3 separate regions of the Homo sapiens genome follow, and regions 1 and 3 are each linked to region 2. Evidence: promoter capture Hi-C in 16 types of primary human blood cells and fetal thymus (Javierre and others, 2016). All regions are on one chromosome and are shown on one strand. The core of a region is centred on a gene start or on the middle of the fragment in contact, and the rest is flanking DNA. Distances in the headings are between cores, read along the strand shown. Region 1 overlaps GAB2 (GRB2 associated binding protein 2). Region 2 holds the start of NARS2 (asparaginyl-tRNA synthetase 2, mitochondrial). Region 3 overlaps USP35 (ubiquitin specific peptidase 35).

Region 1 (2,867 bases), core at 75-2,574, 330 kb after region 2:
TTTATGTCCATGTGCACCCTGTGTTTAGCTCCAACTTATAAGTGAGAACATTAGGGTATTTGGTTTTCTGTTTCTGCATTAATTCACTTGGGATAATGATGTTCAGCTGCATTCATGTTGCTGCAAAAGACATGATTTCATCCTTTGACCACAGCAGGCGCCACCAAAGAGTGGGAAGGTGGTCGTACTCATTACTCTAGAGGCAGACCTTGCCTGAGGGTCAGGGTCACACTCCTAGACCACAGGTAGCCGTACTTCCTGGAAGTGGGGCAGATATGGCCTACATTGTGATAGGAAGTCACCTCCAGGCTACCCCAGAAGCCATACAAAGGTAAAGAGGACCTCTTCTTCAACCAAGATGGCCAGGAGGGCAGCAAGGGGCAGGTATATGAGAGGGAGAGAATGCTAGTGCTGGATTATTTTCTCTGCTCTTACTCTTTTTTCTTCCTCTGACAACTCACTTTGGGATAAGGATACATTTCCTTCCTTTTTCATTCACAGAGCTATTTCTCCTTTTCAGACTCCCTGAGAAATGTTTCCTCAGCCGGTCATGGCCCCCGCTCTTCTCCAGCTGAGCTCAGCAGCTCTAGCCAGCACCTTCTCCGAGAGCGCAAGTCCTCAGCCCCATCACACTCCAGCCAGCCAACTCTGTTCACGTTTGAACCCCCTGTGTCAAACCACATGCAGCCCACCTTGTCCACCAGCGCACCTCAGGAGTATCTCTACTTGCACCAGTGCATAAGCCGAAGAGCAGAAAATGCAAGGTAGGAGGCTGCCACAGCCATTAGGTGGGTTAGTGACCGCTCACAGGGCCTAGTACTTTTCAGTCCTTGCTTTTTTAAAGACAAGCAAAACATTATATCGTTTCAGGTAGACAAACACGTCTATGACAAAACATAATTTTTTGCTTCTGTAGCCTTCATATTTTATTGGCATCATCTGTGTTGCTACACAGTGATAACTGGGTGCCAGAGAAACTTTTCATTATCAAAAATCATGCTATAAAAAATGTTTGATTTGGAGGCAGGGGTGAAGGCATTAGGGGACACAGTTTCCGAATTGCAAAAAAAAACAGTCAATTTACTTGGGCTTAAAAGTATAGCTATAAAACCATAACATAGTTCAACAAATCCATACCTTGCTTTTGCTCTAGAACTGCACTGTTCTGTATAGTAGCTACTACCTGCATATGTCTACATAAATTTAAATTAATTAAAATGAAATAAAATGTAAAATTCAGTTCCTTAGTTGTACTAGCCACATTTCAAGTCCTCAGTAGACACATATGTCTAGGGGCTACTGTACCAGACAGCACAGATACAGAAAATTTCCATCATAACGAAGTTCTAGAGCAAGGACTCCCTGTTCTAGGATAATGGTCTTTTGTTTTTCTAACATCATCAGCTCTTTCACAGGTGCAGAACCTGTAAATGTATTTATTATGTTTTATTCCCATTGTTAGGCTAAGCAAAAGTGCAGAGCTGATAGGCTTTGCCAGAGCTAATTCCCAGTTGCTACCATAGCCAGCAGATTACAAATCACATTTTAATTAACTTACAAGATCTAATTCATGTTATGACAATTAAGGCAAATAGAAAAATGGCTGTACTAATGTATTACTTGATTTTGTCCTTGAGAATATTTTCATACATAATCTCATTTGAACCAATCAATACACTGAGAAATAGCCAGTATACAAAATTTATCTCCATTTTAAAGATGAAGGAACTGAGAATCATGACTAATAAATAGCAGAGGTTGGGCTAGAACCCAGGTCTTCTTGTTTCTGGTCCTGTACTCTTTTCACTATGCTACCCTACTTTTGTTTTTCTGAGTCATCTGCTGTCACACAGAAGAGGCTCCAACACTTAATCTTAAGGCTGCCTCAGATACCCATTTTCATGAAGAACATGATTCATTTGTTTGTGAACTTTCACTAGTTCAACTTCCATCAACTTATACATGAAGAGCTGAGTCCTAAAAAGATAGAGTGAGTTAGCCAAGGTCACTGAACTAGTTAGTGGCGTTAACTGTAAATAGTACCTGATTCTCCCGAATCACTAACCAGAGATAGGCAGTGTGGTATAATGAAAAGCATGTTCAGGCTTTGGAGTCAGTCGGATATGGGTTCAAATTCAGGTTCTTTTACTTTCTTTGTGATCTTGGGCCAATTATTTAACCTAATTAACCTTCAATATTCTTATCTTCAGAATGGGAATAACTAATTCAAAGGCTTACTAATGAGTGTAAAATGATAAAACATACATAAAATAGTAGTAGAGAGTAAATACATTTTACCTGTTCTTCCTATGCCCCATCCTCTTCTACTACATAGACAACTGCCTGGGAGCAGATAAGGTGAGGTCTTAAAATCATAGTTGTAGTGAAAGGCAAAGTACTTAGCTGTAGTGCCTTGCAGACTTTAACATGCATATGAAATACCTGAAGATCTTACTGAAATGCTCACTCTGACTCAGTAAGCCTGGCCTAGGTCCTGGGGTCCTTTCTAATAAACTCCAGATGATACCAGCACAGATTGTCTACAGCTCACACTAAGTAGAAGGCTTTATATAGTAGTAACAATTGCCGCCACCACCACTCCAGTGATCCTGCTGACGCATCAGAGAACAAACGTAGAAACATCTCTGCTTGAATTAGCCTTTAGGGCCCACTCTCTGCACCCCTACCTCCTCTGTGAAATCCCTATTAATCTTCCTACCTGGAATTCACTTTTTCTCTGAATTGCCACAGCAGTTTTTTATTCTCTCTCTCTCTCTCACAACATTTGGAACTTTCTGCCTTGTAGAATGGATTTTTATATTAATACATTACTATTATTTGATGATGGAGCTCACAGTAGGTGCATA
Region 2 (2,815 bases), core at 65-2,564:
AATTGTGATACATGTATATATTATAATTGTATTATATTTTATCCAATATAATATTTGGATAAAATATCAAAAATAATTTTTTGGATAAATTTAAGAGGTAGCCTAATATATAAGGGTGACTTTTCAGTCCAAACAAATGCAGACAACTCATACATCTATGTGTGCACTTACTGGTTTATATTTCAGTAGTCTCTTTTCTTGCTTGTCTCCATCTCTAAAGCATGAGCTCCTTGATGGAACAGATCACCTTGGGACACTATGTAATACAGCATACTGCTTAAGTGCATAGAGCCAGCACTTCTGGGTTTAAATCTCACACTTAGGGAATGTGTATCCTTAAGTAGGTCATCTAGCCTTTCTGTGCGTAAGTTCTCTCATTTGTAAAATGGGTATAATAATAGTAGCAACTTTAAGTAAGGTAAAAGTGAGAGAGAGAGAGTGAGAGTGAGAGGGAGCGGGAGAGAGACAGCGAGGGCGAGCGCTGGTCTTGAACTCCTGGGCTGAAGCAATCCTCCTGCTTCTGCCTCCCTAAGAGTTGGGATTACAGGCGTGAGCCACCGCACTTGGCCAAACGTTTTACTTTTTAAATTAGATTAAAAACCTTTTAATGACCGTCATTGAGTTACAGAATTTTTTTTTTAATAAAACGTAGCCTAATATATAAAAGGGTCATTGTTTCCAGGTCAAACAAATGCAGATAGCTGTGTTGGAGGGCAGAGGGAAGAGGGAGACTTGGAGGATTCTGGCAGGAAACACTCGAGTTTCCTCCAGTCTCTGCAACATCTTCCCACCGTCTTGCCTGCCATATGCAAGGTCCCTCCAGTTCCTTTTATTTACCTGTCAGAGGACTACTTTCTCCAGGAAGCCATCTCTGGCGTCCCACGCTTAGGCTCTGTCAGGCAAACTGATCGCCCTTTTATGCAACTGTCTGTTTAGCTGTCTGATACCACACAACTGTGACTTGCGCATTGGGGCTATGTCTGATTTTTCTCTGCGGAGTACTCAGGAAAGGAACGACTGATCTCTTCAAGCGAATCCTGTTAACAGCTAAGAGCCTCCTCTTACTTGGATCCCTATTGTTGACTGATGGAGACGGTTTCCCTCTCCATCAGTCACTCCTTGCCTCTCAGTTTCTCAGCCTCACCTGGAAACTTTAGAAATGAAGACCCTCAGATGTGCTCCCACGTTCTTTCAGCGATAATCTCTACAACCTTAGGGCATTAGCTCCGCCCCGTCTCGGCTCCTGACCCCGCCCCCTCCCGCACGCCTCCCTAAGCCTGGGTCACAAGTACGCATGCTCTCCCTTCTTCCCCGTAGCGTGATGACGTAAGCGGCGTTGGCGTGGTGTGGTAGGAGTGGTTGCGCGTGTTGCGGCCCGGGTTCTGTTCGTAGGTTTACAATTGTCGCGGGTAGTGGGGCGCCCCAGCTGCCAACTGCACGTGGTTTCTTTCTGGCGTTTGCCTAGTGTCCTGTCCATTCCGCCCCGTTGGGAAGTGGGAAGCGGAGAGGTTCTGTGGGGACAGAGCTGGGAGTCCTGAAGGAGAAAGCGCGCAGCCGAGGGGCTCTGGAGTGCCTTAGAGCAGAGCTGCGGCCGCGGAAGGGGAGCAGCTGAGAAAGGAGGGCCGCTGCAGGCGGGGTTCGAACCGTGGGGTCTGGGCTGCTCCCGCGGAGGGCCTGGGCGGACGCGGGATGCTGGGGGTCCGCTGCCTGCTGCGGTCCGTGCGCTTCTGTTCCTCCGCCCCCTTCCCCAAGCACAAACCTTCAGCCAAACTGAGCGTGCGGGACGCTCTCGGGGCTCAGAACGCGAGTGGGGAGCGCATTAAGATCCAGGTTGGTGAATGGGAAGGGAGTGGGTTTTTTCTTGTAGGGACTTTTATATGGCACATCCACATCTAGCTTTTCTTTTACAGTCGGGTCAGACACAACCGCCAGCAGGGAAAAGTTAGAAAGTGTAGGCGTCGCGGGTTTGCACTTTTCTGATTTCCATTACTTTTCACAAAACTGTTCCGATAACTGTAAAGCGCTGGAACTTTGCTTTCATGATTCCAGGGTATTACCTGTAAACTTGTTAATCATACCAAAAGTGTAAATGAACAAGCCCCCTTTCTCTATCTTTATCCCTTATAATGAATATCCAGGTTTATAAAGTGGTTGTCTTGACCTCCCTCCTTGAGAGCAGAAACCGTGTCTTACCTGCCTTTGTATTCACACATGGCTGACAGCAAATACTTGTTCAAACCATGCCTTTTAAACTTTTAGCGACCTCAGTGCCTATTGTGGGGGTCTGCATGTAATTTATTTTTAATGAATTCGGAGAAAGACTGGAATGTAGCAGTTTGAAAGAGCTCTGGAGTTAAGCTGCTTAGGTTTAAATCTCTGCATAGCGTTTATGCGTTCTACACCTTATTTTCCTCTTATGGAAAGAGATAATAATTGTCCCTGAGTCCTGAAAATTAAATGAGGTAATGGAAGTAAGATATTTAGAACAGTGGCTCATAGTCTACAAATGTTAGCTGCTATTGTTTCTCTTGCTGATTATATTATTTGCAGCAGCTCCACATAGAAGAGGTGCAGAATAAACAAGGTGTTTGACTGTTTCTTATTAGGTTGCTGAAGTACACTGATGTGGTTATTTATTTTTTGAGACAGGGTCTAGCTCTGTCACCCAGACTGGAGCGCAGTGATGTGATCTCAGATGACTACAACCTCCATCTCCCAGGCTCAAGCAATCCTCCTGCCTCGGCCTCCAGAGTAGCTGAAACTATAGGCATGCACCACCACACTCTATAATTTTTTAAGTTTTTTGTGAAGATGA
Region 3 (2,700 bases), core at 61-2,560, 370 kb after region 2:
AGGTTATCTCGTCTGCTGTGCTGCAGATGTAAAAGTCAGATCAAAGGTTCTGCAAGGGCCACCTACCTAGACCCCTTCACCCCACCCAACCTGCCTTCTCTATCAGGCAATGGGGAAGGCTCTGCCATCCAGACTCCAGCTACATGTCTCACTACCTCTGTGACTTTGCACAAGTCACCAAACTTCTCCAAGTCTCCTTTTCCTCATCTATGAGATTGAAATGAACCGTATCATCTTTGTAGGTTTCTTGTGAGCATCAGAAGACAAAACATACAGGAAAATAATCTCAAGTGTAGCAGTAGCCACAGATGTTAGTCACTGTCAGATCCTAGCAACCCGTCAAGCCCAGCTTGATGAGGCCTCTAAGAAACTCTTTCTTCTTAGAGGCCTCATCTGTCCTCTCTAACTGGAGAAGATCTTTCCTTCCTCTGGTTTCTCACTGCTCTCAAGCCAAACCTTGTAGACATTTTCAAAAGCTGCTCCGACCAGAGTTTCTCGTATCCAAGTCTGTCACCCTCACCAGGCTGCGATCCTCTCAATGGAGGAGACTCCGTTTGCTTCATGCCCATGCCCCCAGTTCCCAGCCTGGGCTTGGTGCAGAGCAGGACGTCAGTAAAGTCATGTGAACGACTGTAAATTATCCCTGGTCTGGAGTGCTCACAGTCTGGCAAGGGAGGCAGACAGACAGTGATAACATGTGACAGAGGGATGTACCAAGACTGTGGGAGCCCAGCGAGGCCCTAGCCCAGCCTGGTGGAGGGCATGGGAGTACTGAGAGTGATCAGGAAAGGCATCCTGAGGGAAGTAACACTAGAACAGAGACTTACAAGGTAAGCAGGAGCTGTCCAGGCAGAGCAGAGAAAGAGAACGTGTTTTAATTTCCATACTACACTGACAGAGAAGCGTTTATGGTTAGAAAGCACAGTGTGTGCAAAAGCCCAGAGCAGCCATGAGGCAGCCCAGCCTACTTGGGGAACGTGAGTGGCTCAGTGTGCTTGAGGCACATGATGGACCTGGGGAGGTGATGGGAGACAGCCAGGCACCAAATGACGGGGACTGCCACCAAGCTGTGGTATGGCCCGCTGGAAGGCCCACACTGGTACCTTTGTCAGAGTGGGGCAAGGCCCAAGTAGGGGACTGTCGCTCACCTTGATGGCCTCCATGACAGGCTCATACAGATCCGGGAAGCCCGGGAACCGGAACACCATGCAGTGGACCAGCTCCGCCAGCTGCTCCAGGCAGCTGGTCCCCGAGTTCGAGTCCTCCTTGACCAGAGAGGCCACCATGGGGGGGATGTGAGGGAGGAGCTGTGGGAGCAGAGCTGCGTCAGGCTCAGCACCAACCCGCCCACCTGAGACACGGGGCTGTGGTCCCTGCTGACAGCACGCAACACTCTCTGAGGTAGGGAGGCTTGCCCACCTGACCACTGTCCCCTGACCCAGATGGGGCTCTGAGCTCTGCAGGCAGGTGACTCCTTTTCCCAACAATATGATCTAAGACACCCTGCCTCAGTTTCTTCATCTGCAAAATAGGATGACTACTCCTCTCCTCACAGTCAAAGGGAGGCCAGAGCCCACGATCCAGCTGCTTGGCCTCAGCCAAGTGACCTGCCCCAAGAGCCCAGGGTCAGCAGGCAGGGCCCTTACCAGGGGCAGTAGGCAGGGCCCTTACCAGGGGCAGCAGGCAGGGGCCTCACCAGGGGCAGCAGGCAGGGGACCTTACCAGGTGGAAGGCTTCGTGGGAGTGCTGGAAGGTCAGGAGCATGTACTTGAGCACAGACAAGGCAGCTCCCCGGACGATGGGGTACAGCAGCTTAGAGAAAACCTACAAGAGAGTCCCTGGTCAGGAGTCCCCAGGCTTGAGCTGCTGAGGCCAAGTAGAATCACAAGCCTGAGAGGGGACTCAGAGACACCCTAGAGTTCAAACCCATGCAGAGGGATCAACACTGAGGTGCTCACAGACCCAGATGGACAGACAGATGGTGAGATGGACAGCAACATAGATATCTGAGGAATGGATGGACACACCAAAAGTCAGACACACATACTTGGATGAGTAGTCAGGGAAACTAATGGGGAGAATCTGAGGCCCAGAGAGGGGCAGTGAATTCGCCCAGGTCACACAGCGAGCTTGGTGGGTAGGCCCAATGCTCTGACCTCCCAGACCTGCACCGCCCCTGGCAAGAGCCTAGTACAAAAGGCTGTAACTCTGGGCTAGGACAGGGGCACCAACCTTCTCAATTTTGGTGAGCGAAACCTCGATCAAGATGCTGAACTTCTTAACAGCAGCCAGGCCCTTCAGCAGTGCAATGATCCACTTGTCAATATTCTTCCCCAGGGGCCAGGACACCCAGTCAATCATCCTGGTGAGGGGAGTGACAGTGACACAGGGACAAGGGACACCCAAAATGCTGGGGTGAGGGCAGCCCAGGGGCTATCCGTAATGTCCTGGGTTCCCACATTGACTCACACCTGCAAAGGGCAGCCCCGGGGTCTGTGGGCTGAACCAGACATGGCTGGGAAATGCACAAGCCCAGCACAGCCACCTGCCAGACACTGAGGCTCCCAGCCCACCAAGAAGGGAGCCAGGCCCTCTCAGCACCCCAAGTCTCGCCCCTCCACACTGGGCTGCAATGCCAGAACAAGGCTTTCAGCTGCTTCTGCCTGGAAGGGCACTGCCCCTGGGCCAGAAGCTTTGGCT

The links. The method cuts DNA at HindIII sites, captures the fragments that hold promoters and counts their contacts. A CHiCAGO score of 5 or more calls a contact.
Region 1: a contact is called between a fragment that was not itself captured here and the fragment with the promoter of NARS2 in region 2, in 1 of 17 cell types (M1 macrophages). The highest score is 5.5, in M1 macrophages.
Region 3: a contact is called between a fragment that was not itself captured here and the fragment with the promoter of NARS2 in region 2, in 1 of 17 cell types (M0 macrophages). The highest score is 5.6, in M0 macrophages.

Annotation. Positions count from the first base shown.
Region 1 is chr11:78,248,054-78,250,920 of GRCh38, reverse strand. It overlaps GAB2 (GRB2 associated binding protein 2), which reads left to right. Exons shown (of 10, transcript NM_080491.3): 3 at 521-764. Among named protein-coding and RNA genes, the nearest start is that of USP35, 61 kb to the right of the region's middle. The HindIII fragment of the contact is 3,578 bases long and covers 1-2,867 here.
Region 2 is chr11:78,573,363-78,576,177 of GRCh38, reverse strand. It overlaps NARS2 (asparaginyl-tRNA synthetase 2, mitochondrial), which reads left to right and starts at 1,314. Exons shown (of 14, transcript NM_024678.6): 1 at 1,314-1,830. The coding sequence starts at 1,690. RefSeq lists enhancers at 1,019-1,158, 1,819-1,928. The HindIII fragment of the contact is 10,208 bases long and covers 1-2,815 here.
Region 3 is chr11:78,199,257-78,201,956 of GRCh38, reverse strand. USP35 (ubiquitin specific peptidase 35) reads right to left here. Exons shown (of 11, transcript NM_020798.4): 4 at 2,233-2,362; 5 at 1,723-1,824; 6 at 1,149-1,307. Among named protein-coding and RNA genes, the nearest start is that of USP35, 12 kb to the right of the region's middle. The HindIII fragment of the contact is 2,768 bases long and covers 1-2,694 here.